2 separate regions of the Homo sapiens genome follow, and region 2 is linked to region 1. Evidence: promoter capture Hi-C in 16 types of primary human blood cells and fetal thymus (Javierre and others, 2016). All regions are on one chromosome and are shown on one strand. The core of a region is centred on a gene start or on the middle of the fragment in contact, and the rest is flanking DNA. Distances in the headings are between cores, read along the strand shown. Region 1 overlaps HNRNPUL2 (heterogeneous nuclear ribonucleoprotein U like 2). Region 2 holds the start of EML3 (EMAP like 3).

Evidence for each region. The method cuts DNA at HindIII sites, captures the fragments that hold promoters and counts their contacts. A CHiCAGO score of 5 or more calls a contact.
Region 2: a contact is called between the fragment with the promoter of EML3 here and a fragment that was not itself captured in region 1, in 1 of 17 cell types (non-activated CD4 T cells). The highest score is 5.4, in non-activated CD4 T cells.

The regions. Positions count from the first base shown.
Region 1 is chr11:62,710,749-62,716,958 of GRCh38, reverse strand. HNRNPUL2 (heterogeneous nuclear ribonucleoprotein U like 2) reads left to right here. Exons shown (of 14, transcript NM_001079559.3): 12 at 1,022-1,095; 13 at 1,352-1,459; 14 at 1,580-4,329. The coding sequence ends at 1,660. HNRNPUL2-BSCL2 (HNRNPUL2-BSCL2 readthrough (NMD candidate)) reads left to right here. Exons shown (of 24, transcript NR_037946.1): 12 at 1,022-1,095; 13 at 1,352-1,459. Among named protein-coding and RNA genes, the nearest start is that of GNG3, 6.2 kb to the right of the region's middle. RefSeq lists an enhancer at 1,035-1,536. The HindIII fragment of the contact is 529 bases long and covers 3,574-4,102 here.
Region 2 is chr11:62,608,844-62,615,053 of GRCh38, reverse strand. EML3 (EMAP like 3) reads left to right here and starts at 2,279. Exons shown (of 22, transcript NM_153265.3): 1 at 2,279-2,618; 2 at 3,458-3,629; 3 at 3,710-3,967; 4 at 4,062-4,175; 5 at 5,358-5,425; 6 at 5,577-5,700; 7 at 5,922-6,092. The coding sequence starts at 2,597. It overlaps ROM1 (retinal outer segment membrane protein 1), which reads right to left and starts at 1,797. Exons shown (of 3, transcript NM_000327.4): 1 at 1,183-1,797; 2 at 550-796; 3 at 1-433. The coding sequence starts at 1,772. The coding sequence ends at 215. RefSeq lists enhancers at 1,803-1,862, 2,636-3,195, 3,196-3,754 and a silencer at 1,913-2,792. The HindIII fragment of the contact is 22,044 bases long and covers 1-4,573 here.

The sequences.
Region 1 (6,210 bases), core at 2,589-5,088:
TTCAGTCCATTCTTTGTGCTTAGTACAGCAAGATGTGCAAGGGAAGGCCAAGGAAACCAAGTCAGGTCATTAACAATACGGAAGTGCCTTCTTCATGGAGCTTATTTCTTCCTGTGTTCTTTATCCCTGCCTTTTTCTTGTGCTTTTTCCATAATTCTTCAACAACAACAAAAATCCTCTTTTTTAAAAAAGAGTTACTTTTCACAAAAGTATTTGTTTCTTTGAAAAGCAATGCTTGGGCTTTCTCATCTATCTAGTTTTCATTTTAACATATGGGTTCCCAGTGTCACTGTTCCTGTCTTATCTGAAGGATTTGTGCAGTGAAATCAAATTCTCATCTTCAGTTTTCTTGCTTCTGTGTCATTTCGATTAACAAGAAAGCGAATGCTTTATTCAGTGTTTTTTGTGGGGGGAAGAACTTAACCAAGCAAGTTAGGCTATTAGTAGAATTAATTTTCCCCCTGAATGTCTAGTTTGTCAGTTAAAACCCCAGTGTGCATTCACTGCTCTTTAAAAATGTGTGTGTATGTGTGTGTGTAACTGTTAAGTCAGCAGAATTTCCGAGTGCCTGCTATGTGCTAGGTACTGTAAATGCTGACAGTTCCCGCCCTTGAGGAGCTGATTACAGAGACTTTGTTTCTTTTGCATAAAATGATAGGTATGGGTTATACGATATCTGAAATCCCTTCCAGGGCTGAAAGTCTGATTCTATGAATGGCAGTTTTTCCTTATGTTTCTAACTCTGCCATGTATCCTTTTGCCATCTTAAATGTTTTGCAGGAATTGGGGAGCTTCAAAAACAAAGTGGCTTGGTTTTCTTGTGTCTCTGTTCCTCTGCCCTCCCCCCTCAGACTTTTTAAAAGTTCCTGGCTGGTGCTTTAATTAACATGTGTGAGCCTGGCCGAAGCAGGCCTCATATTCCCCCAGAATTGCCTTTGGCTCCAAGTTTTTGATTTCCACCCAGATGTGGAGCCAGGACCCCATGCCAGCTGTCTGAGCGCGCTCTCCATTTCTCTTCCAGTGGGCGGGCAGCGCCGAGGCTACGACAACCGGGCCTACGGGCAGCAGTACTGGGGGCAGCCTGGAAACAGAGGGGTGAGTGCAGCTCTCCTTCTGCTCCTCACTCTGGGCTGTGAGAGCCATTCTGTTGGCTTGGGGGAGCAGAGTGGTTTGCCTGTTTTCTTAGGGCTTAGGGTTTTGCCCATTTAATATGTTCTGGAAGATTTACTATGGGAAAATTAAACCAATTTATAATATCGAGCTAAGATGTGTCGCATTTAAAAGGGGGTCACGGTGGGTCATGCTGCCAAAAACCCATAAACCTTCACTCCTTTTTCTTTTCCTTTCTCAGGGTTACCGTAATTTCTATGATCGATACAGGGGAGACTATGATCGATTTTACGGGCGAGATTATGAGTACAACAGATACAGAGACTATTACAGACAATACAATCGGGATGTGAGTATCTTCTTGGGATAGACACAGGGTGAAGGGGGGCAGGAGCAGAAGGATGAGTGTTATGCCTCTTCATCCTCAGCCAGCTCTGGCTCCAAGTGATGGGGTTTCCCTCTCTTCTAGTGGCAGAGTTACTACTACCACCACCCCCAGGACAGAGACCGATACTACAGGAATTACTACGGGTACCAAGGGTATCGGTGAAGCCCCTGCCATGGTCACCTGTCAGCCATGAAGCTGAATCTCTGGGGGTGCCAGGCACCCCCGCAAAACACAACCAAGGAAAACAGGGGCTGTCGGGGTGGGGCTGAGCTGCCGGGGAGGGGTGGTGGGGGGGGAGGGTGCTCAAGCAGGGGTGGGGGAGGGGGGAGGTGGAAACAAACAACAAAACTGTACATTTTTTTTAAAGTTTGTTGAAAAGAATATTGTCTTATTCTATAAAACATTTCAAACCTAGTTAGAGATTTGTAATCAAAAAACATTTGCGCAGAAAGCAGCACTTAGGGCTGCCTGTTCTATACCCTACAGTCAGACAGGAAAAGAACTGAAAATGGCACCCTTCTGACATTCTGAGGCAGCTGGACTGGCAGCCAAGTAAAGGAGAGTGATGAGGTGGTGTGGGGAGGGTGGGGAGGCAGCGCGAGGGTGCTCTCCACAGCAGGTAGGAGCAGGCAGGAGTGGGGACAGAGGGAGAGCTTGTGACTGGGACAGTGAAAATAAACGATTGGCTCTTATCAATCACTTGCACCAACTAACCGTTTGTATTTTCTTTACCGACCTTTCCCTTTTGGGATATGTGGTCTGGTGGGCTGGGAGGCTTACAGTGTCCCAACTCTCCATTTTCCTGTGCCTTTGTGCTGTTTGGCTGAGGCATGGAGACTGCCAGTGGGTGGTTCTATTTTACAGGATTCCCAGGCCAAGAAAGCCTGGGGACTGTCCTTGATGGCAGAGCAGAATAGCCTGCCCCTTCTATAGACCCATTGATTAATTCCTGTAAAATCTTGGGGAGAATGGGATTGCAGCCCTCAGCCTAAAGATTGTGATTTGCCAGTCTCTAGTCTCTGTCTTCCAAGGTTGAGAGAGGTGGGAGGTCTCTGAAATCATCCCTGTTAGAGTGTCTGTCCTCTTACAGTGCGAGAGAAGGAACGTTTCTCAGGGTTTCAGCTCACACGAAAACACAGCAGGATTCTTTTCACTGCAGCGGGATATGTATATAGGTGAATCCTGTGGTGTGGGCTCACAGGCCCAGGTGCTGAGAATAGCAACTAGCAACTATTTTCTACAGTGTGGAGGGCTCGTGCCCTGCTGGTTTTTTTGATACACAGGTAGAGAATGAATAGAAGAGGGGAGGGTGGTGGGGGGGGGTGGGAGGCAGCTCAGTGGGGCTGCTGAACCTTGGGAAGAGTGTGAGTGTGAACGTGTGTAAATGTGCGTGTGAAAGGGAGCACCCCTTCCCGACTTCTAGAAACAAAATTCCTTTTGGGGCGCTTTCCCTGTGTGTCCCCAGAGAGGCCTCTAGCCAGGAGCCTTCAGTTGGGATAGTTTCATTTGTGACTTTACCAATACCCTCCCAGTTCTTGATAGACAGCTGTAGGTTGCTGGGTTCAAGAATATGGGTGGGATATGGAATGCTCTTTCAATGTCTAGCTTCAGTTTTCATTCATCCTCCTGCTCAGCACTGTCAGCCAAGAGCTTACTCAGCAGACACCACATACTGCAGCAGTTCCTAGTGAGAAAATCTGTGCCACTAGAAAATGCTTCACTTCCATTTCCTCACCTGGGCAGTTCTCTGTTTAAAATTGTGGGCTGATTTGGTCTTCCTCTCCTCCTCCCACTGTTACTGCCCTGCAGCCCTTGTTCAGGTGTACAGACCCTTATTCTGGCCTCTAGTGTCCTTGTCTGTCATGACACACCCTTCCGCCCAAATACCTCTGACCCCAAGGCTGGAATGGGGCTGGTAGGAGATAAGTTTGCTTACTCATAGTCATGTCCTTTCTCTTGGCACCTGCTTCCCTGCGGTGTCCTCAAATGGATTTCTGTGTGGCAGTGGAGTGATTGCATGAATTTTTCTGTAACACATTAACTTTGTATTATTATTAAGGGAGTTTGAGAAAGCTTTGCTTATAATGTCAAGGCAAGGAGGTAAAAACTGGAGCCCAAAGAAATTCCCTTAGGGCAAGATTATGTTATAATAGAAAATTGAATTTCCTGAGGCAGTGGCTGCCACCCCTTTTCAGATGTTTAGTCCTGCAAATAGCATCTTTCTTGTAGTCTGTGACATGGATGGGGATGCTAGGGCCCTTAGGGGCAAGGGGACTAAACTAAATCAAGTTGAGTTTTTTTCCAGCAGGGGTTAGGGGAGGTACTCGCTGTTGATATTTGACACTAGAAAGTAATCTTTTTTACAAAACTGTTTTTCTAGGTGGGTGGAAAGTGAAACTGCCACATCCTTGTTGGTTTAGTCCAAGAGATCATTTGCAACAACAGTAGATGTCCGGGTTTTGTTTCTGTCTTTTTATTATGAAAAACTATGTTAAGGGGGAAAATGTGGATTATGGTAACCAGAGGAATCCCTAGCCTTGTTTTCCTTAGAAGACTTGTTTAGTGTTTTATCAGACGTCTGTTGTAGTTGTAGACAGGAAAGCTTGTGAGAAAAACACCACATGGAGCCTGTAAATGTTTTTGCACAACCTGTAAAGCATTCTTGGAAGTGGCCAGTAAAAAGGGGTTTTACCATTTAAAAAAAAAATGTAACTGTGTCATTGTTTACATCTGTAACTTTTTCCTCCCCTGTTCTCATTACACCATTCTGGCGAAAATGTAGGCAAAGTAGCTTCCAGTTTTAGAATAAATAACCATTTGGATTGAATTCACCCTATCTCCTGTGGCTGCACTGACTGGGGCGGAGGGTGTCACTGGGTTATTTATTCATTTTTTAATGCCTCTTTCTCAGGTCGCATGGGCTCCAACCAAGGAGGACTCTCCTCTTGCATGGTGGCTGCCGTTCCCTCCCTATTCTACCATGCCTTCACTTGGGAGCCAGCCATGCAGTCAGTTGACATGGGTGGGTAGTTATTAGTCTATTTAGTGCTTGCTTAGGCCAAGAGTCGAGCCATTGAAGTATAGGAAAATAAATTATAACTCACGACCTCTGTATTTGGCCTATGCAAAAACTAGTTGGATGCTTGAAGTTAAATGTACATTGTGGAGCCAAATAAGTATATTCATGAATAATTACTGCTAGGGGGAAAGCCCACTCATTCAACAGAAGTTTGATGGGGGTTATTTTCCAGTGAATCTGGAGAACGAGACGGTAAATTAAATTTACAACAGCGCCATTGCTTTTTTATTTTTTATTTTTATTTTTATTTTTTTTTTTTGACAGAGCCTCGCTCTGTTACCCAGGCTGGAGTGCAGTGGCACGCTCTCGGCTCACTGCAACTTCCGCCTCCTGGGTTCGAGCGATTTTTCTGCTTCAGCCTCCCGAGTAGCTGGGACTACACATGTGTGCCACCAGGCCCAGCTAATTTTTTTTTTTTTTTTTTCCTAGTAGAGACAGGGTTTCACCATATTGGCCAGGCTGGTCTTGAACTCCTGACCTCGTGATCTGCCTGCCTCAGCCTCCCAAAGTGCTGGGATTACAGGTGTGAGCCTCCGCTCCCAGCCACCATTGCATTATTAGCACTGAAATGATCCTAACGGCAGTTTCTAATAAATGGTCAGGGTCTTAAAGCTGAGATACCACAGGCTCATGACATCCAGTGTTCTGAAGGAGTAGTAGTATTGATGTAGATACTGCTCTAATTCCTACCCTCTGTATGTGACACGGATTCAGATACCCGGGTTTACAGTTTTGTACCCTGAAGGCCACCCTTAATTTTGGTAGCCATCTATTCTTTAGGACATTTAAGTTGCTGTTAGAGCTAATTAATCATTTTTTAAAGTGGTTAATCATAGCTCATGCCTGGTCTCTAGTTACTGCTTAAACCCCATTTTCCCACCTAGCGCTGTAGCCACGCAGTTATAATCTGATGGGTAGGAACATTGAGTGTGCAGAAAAATTGAAGAGAGGCGCTTTGTTTTGTTTCGTTTTGTTTTGAGACGGAGTTTCGCTCTTGTTGCCCAGGCTGGAGTGCAGTGGCACAATCTCGGCTCACCGCAACCTCTGCCTCCCGGGTTCAAGTGATTCTCCTACCTCAGCCTCCCAAGTAGCTGGGATTACAGGTACCCGCCACCACACCGGCTAATTTTTGTATTTTTAGTAGAGACAGTTTTCACCGGGTTGGCCAGGCTGGTCTCGAACTCCTGACCTCAGATGATCCGCCCGCCTCGGCCTCCCAAAGTGCTGGGATTACAGGCATGAGCCACCACGCCCGGCCGGCCAAAAAGAGGCTTTCTTAAAAATCAAGGTTACATTTATTAAACACTCTAATTTTTTTTTTTTTTATTTAACCATGTCTGAGCTGTTGTGGAAAATTTCACTTACTCCCCTGGAACTTGCCCAACACCGTGATACAGTGGGGGTGAGGGAGGCAAGGTGCTTGGTCCCTGCCATGCCACATTTGCCATTTAAGCATGTACAGTACAATCTATTCATTGGGTATTTGGGTGCCTGATATGTGCCATTATCAGGATACAGGGATTAAAACGGACCTGACCTGATTGATCCTTCCTGGAATTTTCACCGTGCCAAGAAGGAACTGAGGCTCCTCCGCAACAGAATGGGGGTAGGGTCCCACTCCAGGAGGGCAAAC
Region 2 (6,210 bases), core at 1,030-3,529, 100 kb after region 1:
TCCCATCACTCTGTTCTTTGCTGTTCCCTGGTGGTTCTGACTACAAGGGCTAGGCCCTAGGACATCTGGTTTTCTTTCTTACCCCAGTCCAGCTCGCTGACTATCCTTAGCCCCTCTAATCCTACGATCCCCCCAACCTGGAGCCTTGGTAAGGAGTTGTGAGGTTTTCAGACTTGTCCATCCCTCCCTCTTCCTCACCCCAAGCTCCAGGCCTCTAGGCCTCAGATAGATCCTCCTTGGGAGGTGCTTCTCCTGGTGGGGCCTCCTCAGGTGCTGGCCTGCAGGCAACCCCTCCCTGTAGCCATGCTGTTTTCAGCATATCTTTCAGCCCACTGGGAAAGAGATAGCCCTGGGTCTCTCCTCCCGCATCAATGACCCCTCCAAGCCCCTCCAGTGCTGTTTGCAGGTACCGCAGGCCAAGGAGCACCAGAGCCTGTGGGGGAAGCAAGGGGAAAGAGTCAGGGAGAGTCAGCGGTTCCAAGAGGCCCAGGGTTGGAGGCAGGGAGGAGTCCCGGGTGGGAGGAGGTGTCAGATGCTTTGCTGACTCACCTGCAGTAGGAAGGTGACAGCCAGCATGCTACCCAGTGTGCCTGCCAAGTCCTGCAAGTGCTCCAGCAGCACCTCATGGCACCCTTGGGCCCAGAGGTTTTGGTTGGGTTGTCGGGGATCGAACAGGGGGTGGGCGTAGGAGTCTGAAAGACGGTTTTGCAGGCAAGGCCGGGGTGAGTGGGGGTTGCAACAGGAGAAAGGGACCCCATCAGTCAGGTATAGGCCTTCTACATTGCTCTGGATCCGGCTGCAAAGGGAGGGACAGAGGGGTTAGGATGTCTGGAGATAGAGGCCTGGGGGAGGGACTGAAGGGCACAGGTGTTCAGAAGGGAAAAAGAATAGTAAAACATTTACTGACTGCTGTACTATGTGCCAGCCAAGCATAATTCACATCTTCACAACAACTCTATCAGATAAGTACTATTATTTCCATTTTACAGGTGAAGGAATGGGCCCAGGGTGGTTTGGTAACATGCCCTGGGTTTCACAGCTAATAAATGGCAGAGCTGTAACCAGTCTCTCAGCCACTATGTTCTACTTATTGCCCCTCTGAGCGAGGTGGGGATTCAAGGCAGCAGGAGGGAGCCTGTCCAGGGAGGAGGAGGAGGAGGAAGGGAGACGCAAATCACTCACTCAGCCACATCCCGGTCACCGGGATCCAGGTAACGGCTGCTGACCCACTGGACCCCAAACCAATCCTTGTACCCGTGGCGCCCGCAGCAGTGGTACCTCAGTTGCAGCTCATCCACCAGCCTTTTGGCCTGACAGTGCCCAGGCACCTCTGTGTCCTTGTAGTGAGCCAAGGCAGTCACCAGGCCCTCCTCCAGCGCCTCATCCAGACTCCCAGGCAAAGCCAGGGCTAGCCCGAGGCCGACGACCAGGAGCCCCCCCCCACCAGCCGTGCCAGCCACCAGCAGCGGGCCCAGGACCCCTCGCCAGGGAGGGTATAGAGCTGCATTCAGACTTGCCCGGCTGGCTCCTACACCCACTAGTCCTGTGCCCAGAGCCACCGCGCCCGCTGCCAGGGCAGCCTGGGGCAGGACAGGGAACTGACAGGAGGGAGCCAGGAAGGTGCCAAGGTGCCTTAGCTGGACCAGGAGGTGCCCACTACAGAGGAGGATGACGCCACCAGCCAGCGCCAGCAGCCAGGAGAGGAGCCAGAGCCCTTGTGCCAGGCGGATGCGGGGCTGCAGGGGCAGCACCAGGGGCAACACCGGCGCCATCTCCCATCTCTGCCCAAGGGAATGCAGAGGTGTCAGGGATGGAAGCTGGCTGGGGCAGGATGCTGAGTCAGCCCGGCCCGGCTTGAGCTGGGCTAATGCCACCCTGACCCCAATACCCTGAGCATCCTCCCATCCTCAGCCCTAATAACCCGCCCCCCTGTCAGCCCCAATACAAGATGCCTTGGCCTTGCCCCTTACGAGAAACTCCGCCCCTAGGCCGAGGGCCCGTTTTGTGACCCCGCCCCTGCCCCTCGCGGAAGTGGTGGGGTTGGTCCGCTCAACCCTGAGGGGTTAGGGGCTGGGGGGCGGAGATATCGGGGCGGGCGCTCCCTTCCCCGTCCCCTGGGAATCCGGGGGCGGGGATCCGGGAAGGGCCTGGAGCCGGAGGCCGGGAGTAGGCCAGGGGGTCAGCCGGCTAGCCCCGCCCCCGTACTGAGCGGCGAGGCCCGGACAGGGAGGGGTTACCAAGCGGCCCGGCCCCCCCTCGGGCCCGCCCCCCCTCCCGCGCTTCCTGGCGGCTCCGCGTCCGGCGCCTGTTTGTGCTGCGGCGCTGTGGCACCGGACGGCCCTGCCACCCCACCCCCGGGAGCCGAGAGCGGCCCCGGGAGAGTCCGAGGGCCCGGGGGGGTCTGGAGACTGCGGCCCCGGGCCCACAGCGCCCCCTCCAGGCCCCTTCCCCGCGCCCGACAGCGCCCCCTCGGGGTGGTGGTACGGCGCCCTTCGCGCGCGCCCCGGGGTGCTTCCCCTTCCCCTCTCCCCGGCCGTGGCCCCCGCGGCTTAGACGCCTCCTCCGCCGCCGCCGCTCGGAGCAACCCGGGGGCCGGATGGACGGGGCCGCGGGGCCCGGTGAGTACGGGGCGGGGCGGGCGGCGTGCCCCTTCCCGGAGCGCCCGGCTCGTCGGGTTATGCCAGAGCTGGACGGCTGTCTGGAGGCGTCCCCGCGTGCTCCTCCGCCCCAGGGGCTCCGAGCATCCTCCACAGTTCCTCCGGTCGCCCTCCCTAGTTGCTTGGGTCTTGCTGTCACTTCGGGCTTCCCCAGCGTCATTCTACGCCCCACGTAACTCCGGGCCCCTCGATGTTTCCCTGCCCCCTGCGTTACTCCGGGCCTCTTCTCGTGGTATTTCAGGTCTTTTTCCTTCTGATCCCCACTGCCCCCTGAGACCTTCACTGTGACTCTGCTCACCACTCACACTCTCTCCTGTCACTCTGGATCTCTTTTCTTGTACTCTGGGTCCTCAGTATGACTCCATTCCCGCACCCCGTTCTCTCTCCTGGTGTTCCCCCGGCTCAGTTACTCAGCTTTCGCTGGAGACCTGAGCTTGCTGGGGGCGCGTGGGGAGGGCTGCGGTCCCTGCCCTCACCAGTGCGGCGCCTCTCTCTGTGGCTCCCACGTTCCTCGGCAGTACTCCATATTTCCCCCCCGGTACTCCATGGTACTCCCAGTCTTTGCGGAGGCTGAGACGGCAGCAGGAAGGGAGCTTTGCCAGGTTTCTCGCCTGCCCTGCCAGAAGGAGGCCCTTGATCCTTTACCACCGTCTCCTCCCCTCTGGACGAGCATTCAAGCCTGGGGCTGCCTGAAAGGGGCAGTCCTACCGGACACATGTAAAGTTGTGGGGAGACAGAATCCCCTCTACGCTTTCTTCAGGTGATGGGTACATTCTGAGTACCTCTTGCCCTTTTCCCAGGTGACGGCCCTGCTCGGGAGGCCCTCCAGTCTCTGAGCCAGCGGCTTCGGGTGCAGGAGCAGGAGATGGAACTGGTAAAGGCAGCCCTGGCAGAAGCCCTTCGCCTGCTGCGGCTGCAGGTGCCCCCTTCCTCCCTGCAGGGCTCTGGCACACCAGCTCCTCCGGGGGACAGGTATGCATGTCATCACACCCCATTTTTCCTCCTCCTTGGGGCCTCTGGGGCTTCAGGTTAATTCAACATCTCTCCAGCAGTCTTGCAGCCCCCCCAGGACTGCCACCCACGTGCACCCCTTCCTTGGTGAGCCGAGGCACCCAGACGGAGACAGAGGTGGAGCTCAAGTCATCCCCTGGACCCCCTGGCCTGAGCAATGGACCCCCAGCCCCTCAGGGGGCCAGCGAAGAGCCTAGCGGGACCCAATCTGAAGGAGGGGGCAGCAGCAGCAGTGGTGCTGGCTCCCCTGGCCCCCCGGGGATCCTCAGGCCCTTGCAGCCCCCACAGCGTGCTGACACGTAGGTGTCCTGTGGCCCTGTGGCGGAAGCTGGGAGGGGTGGTAGGATTGCAGAGTACAGTTGGAGGGAATGACCTTCACTATGCCCCCACCAGGCCGCGAAGAAATTCTTCCTCCTCCTCATCCCCCTCAGAGCGGCCTCGGCAGAAGCTCTCCAGGAAGGCAATCTCCTCCGCCAACCTGTTAGTGCGGTCCGGGAGCACAGAGAGGTGGGTGAGGCTTCCCCTCAACCCACCCCGCCCCAGGCGCAGGCTCTCGACTTTCCATATCCCTCACCTCACATCCCTGGTTGGGGTGGGGGGACCTGATTGCCCAACAGGAATAAAGAAACAAACACTTCTGGGGCGCCTGCTGTGTACCGGGCACTGTGCTAAACCCTCGACCTCCTCCATCTCAGTCAGTCCCCACAACATCCTTGGGGGTTAGGTGGTCTCATGCTGCTCATTGCACAGGTGAGGAAGCAGGCTCAGAGAGGGTAAGTCATTTGCCTGGGGTCACACAGCTAGAGTCAGGATTTGAACCTAACTCTTCCTGACTCCAGTTCCCCTACCCTTTCCACTACATCACAGCACACCTTCTGCGATCCCAAGAGGCTTTTCTAGAAGCTTCCATGGCTTTCATGGACGGCTGTCCCTAGAGCTTCAGCCCTCTTTCCGCTGGATCTACCAAGTACCAATCTATTAATACTTACTTCTAGAGGGCAAGAGGACATCCTAGTGGCCGGATGTAGTTGCCTCAGAGTATGTACGGGCCCCAGGACACCCGGATGTTCATTCTAGCCCTGTCCTTGGCCTGTGCTTTATTCTCTGAAGAGACAGTATCACTTTACTGTTATCTAACGACAGGAATCTCTGGAGAGATGTGGACTTTCTTGCTTGCCTCCCGGATCCCTGAGAGGCGGAGCTGGTGTACATTCTCGACTCCCTTTGGTCCCATTTTACGGATGGGGAAATGAAAAGGTCAATAGCGGGGCCTAGTGGCGCGCACGTGTAATCCCAGCTACTGGGGAGGCTAAGGCAGGAGAATTGCTTGAACCCAGGAGGCGGAGGTTGCAGTGAGCTGAGGTCGCACCACTGCACTCCAGCCTGGGCGACAGAGCGAGACTGAGGCCTGGTGGTCTGGAGGAGAGAAAGGGCTCTGGCACCCTGCACTGCCTCTTCCAAGCTTTGTGGCCTTGTGCTGTGCGCTCAGCCCCTTCAGCCTCAATCTTCTTATCTCTTAAATGGAACTAGAAGTCTCCATCTACTAGGGCCCTGATACTCACGAAGCAAACTACAGGCTTGCAGAAGTGACTGTGGTTTCTGCAGTGACCTCTTTTCTTGTGTCCTGCCCCTCCCCGCTTAGGTCTTGGGACCTGACCCCAATCCCTGTGCTTTCTCTCTTCCCAACAGCCGTGGGGGAAAAGACCCCCTCTCCAGCCCTGGGGGCCCTGGATCTCGGAGGAGCAATTACAATTTGGGTATGTAAAGAGGGACAGAGAGGAAAACTTGGATGGCAGGGTTAGGATTTGGGCTGTAGCCCCAGGAGCTATTTTGGGTAGGTGTGGTGGGTAGGGTTCTGCTCTGTCTTTCCTGGAAGGGGGTAGTTGACACCACCCCTTTTCTCTGTAGAAGGCATCTCAGTGAAGATGTTCCTTCGAGGGCGCCCCATTACCATGTACATCCCGTCTGGCATCCGCAGCCTTGAGGAGCTGCCGAGTGGCCCACCGCCAGAGACCCTCAGCCTTGACTGGGTGTATCCTGCCCCTTCCAGTCCCATGAGAACCACCTTTCTCACCTTGGGACCCCTCTTACCTTTACAGTTTCCTCCTGGGTCTGTGGGGACAAGGAGCCTTCTAGATCCTCTCCTACCATCATTCTGCTCTAGGCCCTGCCAGCCAGAAGCTCTGTCTTTCTCCCCTCTTCCTCCTCCTGCCCTTGATCTAACCCTTTCCTTGACCGTGATCTCCACCCCAGTTATGGGTACAGGGGTCGTGACTCCCGCTCTAATCTGTTTGTGTTGCGCTCTGGGGAGGTGGTCTACTTTATCGCCTGTGTGGTGGTGCTGTACCGGCCTGGAGGAGGCCCAGGGGGTCCTGGAGGTGGCGGCCAGAGACATTACCGGGGGCACACAGACTGCGTTCGATGGTGAGGAGTCCGGGGCTGGTGGGCTTGGCAGGAAGAGGGTCTGGGGGGATGGAGAAGCAGGAGAAAAGAGTTGCCTTGCTGCTCTGCAAGCTTGGAGAAGGTGTCTTGGATGGTCTTG